3 separate regions of the Homo sapiens genome follow, and all the other regions are linked to region 3. Evidence: promoter capture Hi-C in 16 types of primary human blood cells and fetal thymus (Javierre and others, 2016). All regions are on one chromosome and are shown on one strand. Each heading gives the region's core, a stretch centred on a gene start or on the middle of the fragment in contact. The rest is flanking DNA. Distances are from core to core; before and after follow the strand shown.

What was found. Contacts are between HindIII fragments. The CHiCAGO score rates a contact against its expected background, and 5 or more counts as called.
Region 1: a fragment that was not itself captured here is called in contact with the fragment with the promoter of BTK in region 3 in 1 of 17 cell types (monocytes); the score reaches 5.4 in monocytes.
Region 2: a contact is called between the fragment with the promoter of CXorf65 here and the fragment with the promoter of BTK in region 3, in 1 of 17 cell types (total B cells). The highest score is 5.3, in total B cells.

What each region holds. Positions count from the first base shown.
Region 1 is chrX:75,273,688-75,276,944 of GRCh38, forward strand. It overlaps UPRT (uracil phosphoribosyltransferase homolog), which reads left to right and starts at 398. Exons shown (of 7, transcript NM_145052.4): 1 at 398-953. The coding sequence starts at 568. It overlaps LOC124905200 (a long non-coding RNA gene), which reads right to left and starts at 349. Exons shown (of 4, transcript XR_007068269.1): 1 at 1-349. RefSeq lists enhancers at 289-338, 359-408, 569-778. The HindIII fragment of the contact is 1,002 bases long and covers 1,490-2,491 here.
Region 2 is chrX:71,104,812-71,107,995 of GRCh38, forward strand. CXorf65 (chromosome X open reading frame 65) reads right to left here and starts at 1,929. Exons shown (of 6, transcript NM_001025265.3): 1 at 1,721-1,929; 2 at 1,529-1,615; 3 at 1,189-1,326; 4 at 1-26. The coding sequence starts at 1,745. IL2RG (interleukin 2 receptor subunit gamma) reads right to left here. Exons shown (of 8, transcript NM_000206.3): 8 at 2,593-3,110. The coding sequence ends at 2,925. The HindIII fragment of the contact is 6,290 bases long and covers 1-3,184 here.
Region 3 is chrX:101,384,567-101,387,820 of GRCh38, forward strand. It overlaps BTK (Bruton tyrosine kinase), which reads right to left and starts at 1,625. Exons shown (of 19, transcript NM_000061.3): 1 at 1,496-1,625. RefSeq lists an enhancer at 892-1,111. The HindIII fragment of the contact is 7,609 bases long and covers 459-3,254 here.

The DNA of each region.
Region 1 (3,257 bases), core at 741-3,240, about 26 Mb before region 3:
CTCTTCAGCAGCCTGCTAGGCATTTTTTTACTTCTTCCTTCTGTTATGCAGACAAGCTAACTGAAGATGCGGTTACTGAGATATAATTTCTCTGCTAGGTCACAAAGTCTGAAAACATGGGCCTTACGTGTGTAACTGTGTATCATCACCTGCCACCCCCAGTTTTTCCTGGCTCTACTAATCACCCAAAGTTCTGAATGCAGAAGCCCCAGGGGCCCCCGGAAGATCCTTCAAGCTGGCATCCTTGGCCTCGCTGCGGGGGCTTAGCTACCTGTGGGAACCCACGTAGCAAGGGTGACTCAAAGGGTTAACAAGCAGTGGCGCCGCAGAGTGGCGGGGAGTGCAGCCAATAGGGTGTCTAGGCAGGCAGTACGTCTGGTGTGGGCGGGAGTGAGCCAAAGTGTGCTAAAGGAAACCAACAGCGGCCTAGGGGTGAAAGGACAGCCAGGGTTAGATGTTCTGAGGAGGCGGGAGCAACCGAGAGAGCACGTGAGCATCTGTCCTTTCTACCCGTTCCTCTTTATCTTTAGTGTTCAGTAGCAGCGGGGATAGCCCGGGGCCCGGTGTATGGCCACGGAGTTACAGTGTCCGGACTCCATGCCCTGTCACAACCAGCAAGTAAACTCTGCCTCAACCCCAAGTCCCGAGCAGCTGCGACCTGGCGATCTGATCCTGGACCACGCAGGGGGAAACAGAGCCTCCAGGGCCAAGGTGATTCTCCTCACGGGGTACGCCCATTCTAGCCTGCCGGCCGAGCTGGACTCTGGGGCCTGCGGCGGCTCCAGCCTCAACTCAGAGGGCAACAGTGGTAGTGGTGACAGTAGCAGCTATGACGCACCAGCTGGCAACTCCTTCCTAGAGGACTGCGAACTCTCCCGGCAGATCGGGGCGCAGCTTAAGCTGCTGCCTATGAATGATCAGATACGGGAGCTACAGACCATCATCCGTGACAAGTAAGCCAAGAGCGGAAGGGGAAAGGGAAGTGGAGGGTCTTGCAGGCTGTGGGCGGGGATTGGAAGTAAAAGGGCTAAGAGACAGTGTTCTTGGCCTTGGCAAACTTTGGAGATTGGGGTAAGACCTTTTATTTGGTGTGTGTGTGTGTGTGTGTGTGTGTGTGTGTGTGTGTGTGTCGTGTAACTCGAACGCCAACCTTCTCTTTCCAAGTTCCGGTGTCTAACATCACTTTGGGTGGGGAGGAAGACTTTAGGTAGCCTCTGGGCTCTTTGTCTCTCCCAGGAAAGACAACTCCTTGGCCATTCCAGGCAGGTAAACTCCCCTATACTATGTGGGCAGTGCTTGTCCACATGGTAAACCTATAACCCAGAAATGGTTACTATCCAAGGTTATGCACTACCACCAATCACCTCAGGTTCATAAATAGAAATAAAGCAATTTCAAGGAAATTCTATTCAGGCCCTGACCCTTTAGTATTTGCTACTGCAAACAAGGTCTTTTAGTCTTGGAGTTCAGGTTTACTTGATCACATGAAAGCTTATCGTCCAACTCTTATCATTTTTCACTGTAAACTCACAGAACATAGTTAATGGATCAAAGGGAGCCTAAAGGAGCCTTTGGCCCTTCCTAATCCCACAAACCAATGTAGCCAGAACTTCATGTTAAAATGTAATTTTGAAATTTCTAAACCTACGTTGTAAATGGGTTTTCTCCAGGGAAATATGTACCATGATGAACTACAGCTATTTTCTTTATTGGCAGCACTTTAAATGAGCAGCATATCAAAACACCCCTTTTTTAGTGGCAGGGGTTGGGGGGACATGCCTTGATCTTTTAAAAATGGCTACTGAATGACAGATGCCACTCCCTAAACCAGACTCTAGAAACCTTGTCTTACACTATTGTAATAATACTGTTTCTCTGCTTGCAGTTTTTCCTCTCTTCCACATGCACCCATACATTACTGTACAATCAATCTTCATAACATACATCTTTGATTCAGTAATTGCCCTACTCAGCAACCTTCTTTGGCTTCTCAGAGCCTACCAAATAAAGTCCAGGATCCTTAGCTTGATTGATATTTTTGAGACAGGATCTTTCTCTGTCACCCAGGCTGGAGTGCAGTGGTGAGATCACAGCTTACTGTACCCTCATACTTCTGGGCTCAAGTAATCCTCCTGCCTTAGCCTCCTGAGTAGCTGGGACTACAGGGACATGGCACTGCCCCCCGGCTAATTTTTTATTTTTTTGTAGAGATGGAGGTCTTGCTATATTGTCCACGATGGTCTTGAACTCCTGGCCTCAAGCAATCCTCGTGCCTCGGCCTCCTAAAATGTTGGGATTACAGGTGTGAGCCACCATGCCTGGCCCCCTTAGCTTGGGATGAAGGCCCTTCTTCATAGTTCCTAGGAACAATTCTGAAACATATCTGTTTCTGCTCTCATCTGGAATTCCCTGTGTCTCCTTTATGTACGTTCAGGATACTTATTCTTCAGGGTGAAACACAGCATTAAATAATTGTCCACCTCTGCCAAGAAGCTTCCCTTTAATCATTATTCCTGGCTTATCTTCCCTGGTCTTTTTAATGCAAGATTCACCTTCTTTTTCGTATATTGTTATTTTTGTATAGATCTTATCCTGCCTATGACATCTTGAAGGCAGAAATCTTTTACATTTTTGAATGCCGGCCATGCCTTGCAAATAATAGATGCTCAATTACTAGAGTTTTTTTGTAGCTCTTAAAATTATATTTATGAAACTATACTATTTTACTCTTTTTAATGAATCAATATTGAAAACTACTGTGGTTATGTTATCTAATAGACAAAATAGTGATCCTAAAAAATAGGAGGCATAGGTTTGCTGTAGTTGTGGTAGGGTAGGGGCAGCCAAAATAAATCTTACATATACAACAAAGAAAAATAGATGATGATTCTTGTTTCTATAGAGCAGAAGTTACTACGCTTGGGTCTTCGACTCCCTCGTACCAGTAGATGGGTTCAGGGCTTTAACAAACCCTCATAAATTAACTGGGAAATTTTACTCATATGAAGATTTTTAATAGTTGTTTTTAAATAACATCTTTATTGAGATATAATTCACAGACCATACAGTTCAAGAATTTAAAGTGTATAATTCAGTGGTTTTAAGTATGTTCACAGCTGTGCATTCATCACCACAGTTTTAGAACATTTGTCATCACCCCAGCAAGAAACCTCATGCCCATTAAACAGTCACTCCCCATTTTCACCCAACCCACCCAAAGCCCTAGACAATCATTAATCTACTTTCTATTTCTAATG
Region 2 (3,184 bases), core at 679-3,178, about 30 Mb before region 3:
TCTGTAAGCATTCTCCAGCCTGGTTCCTGTGAACATAGCCATGTGCTATCTCCAGCCCCTGTCATCCAGTCTCCACCCTTCAGAAGTCCAAGATTCCAGGACCTAACACTAAAGACTACCCGCCAGATGCGGTGGCTCACGCCTGTAATCCCAGCATTTTGGGAGGCCAAGGTGGGCGGATCACTTGAGGTCAGGAGTTCCAGACTAGCCTGGCCAATTCGAGACTAGCCTGGCCAATTTGGTGAAACCCCATCTCTACCAAAAATACAAACAAACAAAAAAAATTAGCTGGGCATGGTGGTGGGCGCCTGTAATCCCAGCTACTCCGGAGGCTGAGGCAGGAGAATCACTTGAACCCAGGAGGCAGAGGTTGCAGTGAGCCAAGATCATGCCACTGTTTCAGCCTGGGTGACAGAGCAAGACTCCATCACAAAAAATAAAATAAATAAATAAATAAAAATAAAGACTACCTTGCCGGGCACAGTGGCTCACGCCTGTAATCCCAGCACTTTGGGAGGCTGAGGTGGGTGGATCACCTGAGGTCAGGAGTTCAAGACCAGCTTGGCCAACATGGTGAAACCCCATCTGCACTAAAAAATTAGTTGGGCCTGGTGGCGGGTGCCTGTAGTCCCAGCTACTCAGGAGGCTAAGACAGGAGAATCGCTTGAACCTGGGAGGCAGAGGTTGCAGTGAGCTGAGATCGCGCCATTGCACTCCAGCCTGGACAACTGGACAACAAGAGCGAAACTCTGTCCCAAAAAAAAAAAAAAAAAAACCTACCTTGAGCTGGTGGATATTTCTTCCCCTTAGGTATGGACCTAGGGGAGAGTATGTGTGAGGTAACCTATTATTATAGAGGCAGTACCCTTCCTTAGGCTGACTAGAGATGGTCAATTTGGATCTGGTTGAGGGTGTTCTGTTGTTTGAGGGTGTTCTGTTTTTTGTTTTAATTTGGTTTTGGTTGTTTTTGGTTTTGGTTTTGGTTTTGGAGGCAGGCTCTTGTTATGTTGCCCAGGCTGGTCTCAAACTCCTGCCCTCTATCGATTCTCCCGCCTTGGCCTCTCAAAGTGCTGAGATTACAAGCATGAGCCACTATGCCCAGCCTTGGATGCCTTGTTTTAAAGATAAGGTTCATAATCTATCTTGAAGGCCTTATTCTATTTCTGGGGAACACTCCTGAGCCTCTACCTGGTGGCCCACGTTCCACCTTACAAACGTAGTAGGTGCTTCGAGCTGTAAGGTATTTGCTGGCATACTCTGCATGATTGGGCTTCATCAGGAAAAGCATCTTCATTTTCCCCGTTTGTTCACACAAATCGATGGTGTCTGGAGGGAGATCACAGGGTAATTGGGGCAGCTAAGGAAAGAGAGTGGGAGCAAAAGGGGCCAGTGATCCTATACAAAATGGGTTGGAGGAAGCTCTAAGGATATGAGGAACTCCCTTCTTGCCAGGAGGAGGGCTTGGGGGTTAGAGATGACCCAACTCCTTCTGACCTTTGGCCATTAGTCCCCTCCCTAAGCTCCTCACTTGTTTTAGGCAACTTTACTTTACTGCGGATGTAATACAGCAACACGACGACAGCACAGTTGGTATTGACCAGAAACTGCTGATTATCTGAGAAGAGATAGGATGGGACACATGGGCCCATTTCTGTGATCTCCACTGCCCTCAGATCCCTCCACCCCCATCCACAGACTCTAGTTCTGTGCTGCCCCTCACCTCCATGTTTGATGAAGATGAACATGCCCTCAAGATCGCCTCACTCTTCACAAAGTGCCCTGATGAGTCATGCAGAAGGAGGGTGTTCTAGAGGCCTTGTGTGGGGCAAATAGGCCTATAGGGTTGGTGGACTAGAGAGGCAGATGGATTTCATAGGCTGAGGATGCCCAGGCTGGACAGGCAGGAGAGAGCTGTTGATAGTTGTGGATAACCAGTATCCCCAGGGGTGGGGCCTGAGACTGCAGTTAAGGGATTATGAGGTCAGAAGTGGCAGGTGTGGCCAAAAAGTGGAGTAAGGGTAAGGAGAGAAAAACTTGGGTGGGGTATGTTAAAGATTAGTTGGAAAGGGGGGACAACATGGTAAGTCTAACTTTTTTTATTTTTTTTATTTTTTTAGATGGAGTCTCCCTCTGTCGCCCAGGCTGGAGTGCAGTGGCACAATCTTGGCTCACTGCATCCTCTACCTCCTGGGTTCAAGCGATTCTCCTGCCTCAGCCTCCCAAGTAGCTGGAATTACAGGAGCACACCATCACGCCTGGCTAATTTTTGTATTTTTAGTAGAGACGGGGTTTCACCATGTTGGCCAGGCTGGTCTCGATCTCCTGACCTCGTGATCCACCCGCTTTGGCCTCCCAAAGTGCTGGGATTACAGGCGTGAGCCACCACGCCCAGCCCATTGTAAGTCTAACTCTAAACTAAACCCTGGAATGAGTGCAGGGCACCTGGAAAAAAGTCAGTTTCCAGAACAGTACTCTTTCTAGCAAATTGGTAATACTCCTGCCTCCACAGCATGAATGTACTACTCCTTTTTCTTCCCCTCCCACCCTCATTGCATCCCAGGCTTCCCCTGCTCCCCACCCCCATGACAGACATTTTTGATGATTATCAACAGAAACTTTATTTCTCATCGGTTCAGGAACAATCGGAGGGTAGATGGAAAGAGGAAGGGAGGGAAAGAGGGAGGGAGGAAGAATCCTGCGAAAAGGAAGGGCCAGACTGAGGGAGAAGAAAAACATGTTCGGGGCAAAAGGGTAATTCTCAAGTGGGGAATGCCAAATGAAGGGGTGCTTACATGGGGGCACAAAATTCCAAATCAGCCACAGTGGGGTGAGGTGAGTATGAGACGCAGGTGGGTTGAATGAAGGAAAGTTAGTACCACTTAGGGCTACAGGACCCTGGGGTTCTTCTGTCAGAGGATTGGGGTTCAGGTTTCAGGCTTTAGGGTGTAACATGGGGGGGCCCAGTAGGGGCTATGCTGGTTGCATGGGGAGGCCCCAGGCCCCTCCCCAAGGGCCCCTCCTTTTGGGGGAATCTCACTGACGAGGCAGAGTCGTTCACTGTAGTCTGGCTGCAGACTCTCAGCCAGTCCCTTAGACACACCACTCCAGGCCTAAAGACAGATATGTCCAGGTCAGGGGTCAATTAGGGGCAGGAAGTAAAAGACCGAGCTCTGTGCCAAAGGAG
Region 3 (3,254 bases), core at 375-2,874:
TGCACTCCAGCCTGGGCAGCAAGAGTGAAACTCCGTGTCAAAAAAAAAAAAAAAAAATTCCAAACAAAAATATCAATAGCCATACGCAATGGAAATTTGGACTTCAACACAAGCAAGCAGTTTAAATAGTTTGAATATAAAAGGAGTCAGAATAGACAGGACAAGCCCTAAGGGACACTGTTTGGGTATAATGCTTTAGGTTGCCATGAGTATTTGCATTTTGTGGCTTATTTGGAAAGTGACATTATTTTATCAAATAACTGAGGCTCCAGAGAGGCTGGAGTCTGGGCAACTTATCCAAGGATGTCTTGATTGGGGTCACCAATCACTTTTATTCTAAATGTCATATTATTTGCTCTAGGTAGGCCCTCTGGGGGACATTGGCAGGTCTGAGGCAGAGTAAAAATTATAGCAAATACTGAGATCCAGCACTTACTATTGCCAGGCCCTGTTTTAAAAGCTTTACATGTATTTGCACATTTACTGCTCACAACCACCTTATGGGGAAGGTGCTAGGCAGGCAGGGAGGAGGAAATGGAAAGGGAAAGGAAAAGGGAAAAGAGCGGGGGAAGAAAGGAGCAAGAAAAAGTCAATGCAATTCGGCAATTATTTGTTAAGTGCTAACTGTATGTCAGGGTCTGGTAATCAACAGAACAGAGGAGGGTATAATGAAGAGGGGATATAGGTAGAGAAAAGAGGATGAGTGGGAAGAGGAGGAGGTTGGAGAGGAGGAAAGGAAAGGAGAAATAATGAAGACAAGAGAAAAGCAAGCCATGCACATGGAGGGCAATGGTAAGAGGAGAAACCTTTGCCACAACCTCAAGGGTTGGCCGCACTGTCTGGGCTGAGGCAGAGGCTGCTTTCTCCTGGCCCAGTCTTTTACCCATTGTTACCACGAGGTTGGCACAGCTTCCACACAGTCCTTTAATAAGCCAGCTCTGACCCTGGCGACATTTGGCCTGGTACAGCTCAAGGCAGGTAGCCTACACCCTGGCCTAGCCAGGCCTTTCCCTAGCTCACAAAGGTCAACTTCATAACGTGGAGCGTGAGCTTTTACCATGTTCTCAGAGAATCTGCCTCTTAGTATTTCTTTTTCTAAAGGCTTCATTGACCCATGTATCCCTATTGAGTCTTCAAGCACTATTTGACAGAAGGGCTTGTTTTTATCTGACTGCTCCCTGCAATATTACTTTTCCACTAAGTTTGCCAGAGGTACCCCTTTCTAACATTTGCTACCTGTTCGGATGGTCACCTCATGTCACATTTTTCTCTTCCTGTTCCGCCCACCCTCAGCCCTTGTCGGAAAGGACCCTTTCGGCCTCTCTAATCACCAGAAGGGACTGCCAGGGCCTTGTGCTGATGACACTCCCACCCTCCGTCAGCCTCCTCCACTAGCTGATAAATGGCACCAGCCATGCTGTCTCTCTGGTTTTTAGGGGTCCCAAGCAAGGTACATTGCTGCTGCTGCCCAGCCCCTGCCATACCCCAGACCCACCTCAGTCCTGACTTAATGCAGGTAGCTTCCCAGATGCATTGAGATGCCAGGACTTGGAAGGTGGGACTCGATCGCAGCAGACACTGGCCCTGGAGACATATTCTTACAGTCCAGAGAGGAAGGACAGTCTGAGCAAACCCCACCCTTTCACAGCCACTCAGTTCCCTTTTTTTGCTTCCTGACCTAAACCAATGTCTTTTTTTCTTCTCAGCAGCATGCTATCTGGTTCCCTGCTGCCGTCCCTATTCCACCCCCTCAACTGTCCCCGCCCTTCATTTGCTTGGGACCTCTGACACTACTATCTTGAGTCTATCTTTGAAAGAACCTTTCTCAACATGACTGGGGCCACTGAGACTCTAGATGGGGCTGGCCTGAGCAGACAGGTCATCAAGCTATCCTCCCAGAGGTAAAGGGACAACATACCTAAAGTACTATGAAGACAGTCAGCACAGGGAGAGGGGCTTACAGGAAAGAGGAGAGATGCTGGGGGCTGGCAGACACAGAGCAAAGAGACTGGCCAGGAAGAGCGTTTTTCGAGTCTCCTGTCCTCCGGGGCAGAGGAGTCTCAGGGACACACAGTTGAACTTGATAGTGAAGGGACCCCAAAGGACAAAACAAGACAGAGGTAGAGACAAGACTTCCCCGTGCTGAGTCATTTTCTAAGAAAGCATTTTTCCCCTACAGATAAAAATGTCGGAATATAAGCCCACAGAAATACTTGTGCCCTTCCCCATTTTCTGTGGATGTTGACTTTCTCCATTTAAGATTTGGCCTCAGGGATTAACTCTCAATGTCCACCTTTCTCTTGAGTCCTGTAAACCGGTAAAGCAGACTAGGTATGTCACTTGAAGCCTGGAGGTTTTCTCAGGGGCCCCCTACATTATGCTCCAACTGCAATGATTCCCCCAGGGATTCTCCTAGGAAATGCAGCCAGTATTGAATGCAGACCATGATGGTGGAGCCCCTGCTGACTGATCTGCCTGCCCACCTTGACACCTCGGGCACTGCCATATTTCCTTGCCCCAAGGCACTGTATCCTAATGTAGAAACAGATCACAGGTCCCACTACAATTTCATCCGAAGTTTTAAGTCAACAGGACCTTATTTTTTTTTCTTTATTTTGTCTAAAAAACAAACAAACAAGCAAACAAAAAAAATGGGGTATATGTGCAGAAGGTGCAAGTTTGTTACATAGGTATATGTGTGACATGGTGATTTGCTGCACCTATTGACCCATCCTCTAAGATCCCTCCCCTCACCCCCAAGCCCCAACAGGCCCTGGGACCTTTTTTTTTTTTTTTTTTTTTTGAGACAGGGTCTTGCTCTGAAGCCCAGGTTGGAGTGCAGTGGCGTGATCATGGCTCACTGCAGCCTCCACCTCCTGGGCTCAAGTGATCCTCTCACCTCAGTCACCCTAGTACCTGGGACTATAGGCACACATCACTGTGCTGGGCTAATTTTTCTACTTTTTGTAGAGATGGGGTTTCACTATGTTGCCCAGGCTGGTCTCAAACTCCTGGGCTCAAGCGATACTCCTGCCTTGGCCTCCCAAAATGCAGGGATTACAGGAGTGAGCCACCTCTCCCAGCCATCAACAGGACTTTAAATAAAAACATTTAAAGTATTTGTAGACTGATGATAGAGTGGTTGATACTCACATTTGCACAAGACAGATGGACAGCATGTGTTGTATGATTGCCTTACTTTATTGACAACGTCTATCCTTTCGCTAGTCACCCCCAATAGCTGTTCCACTCAC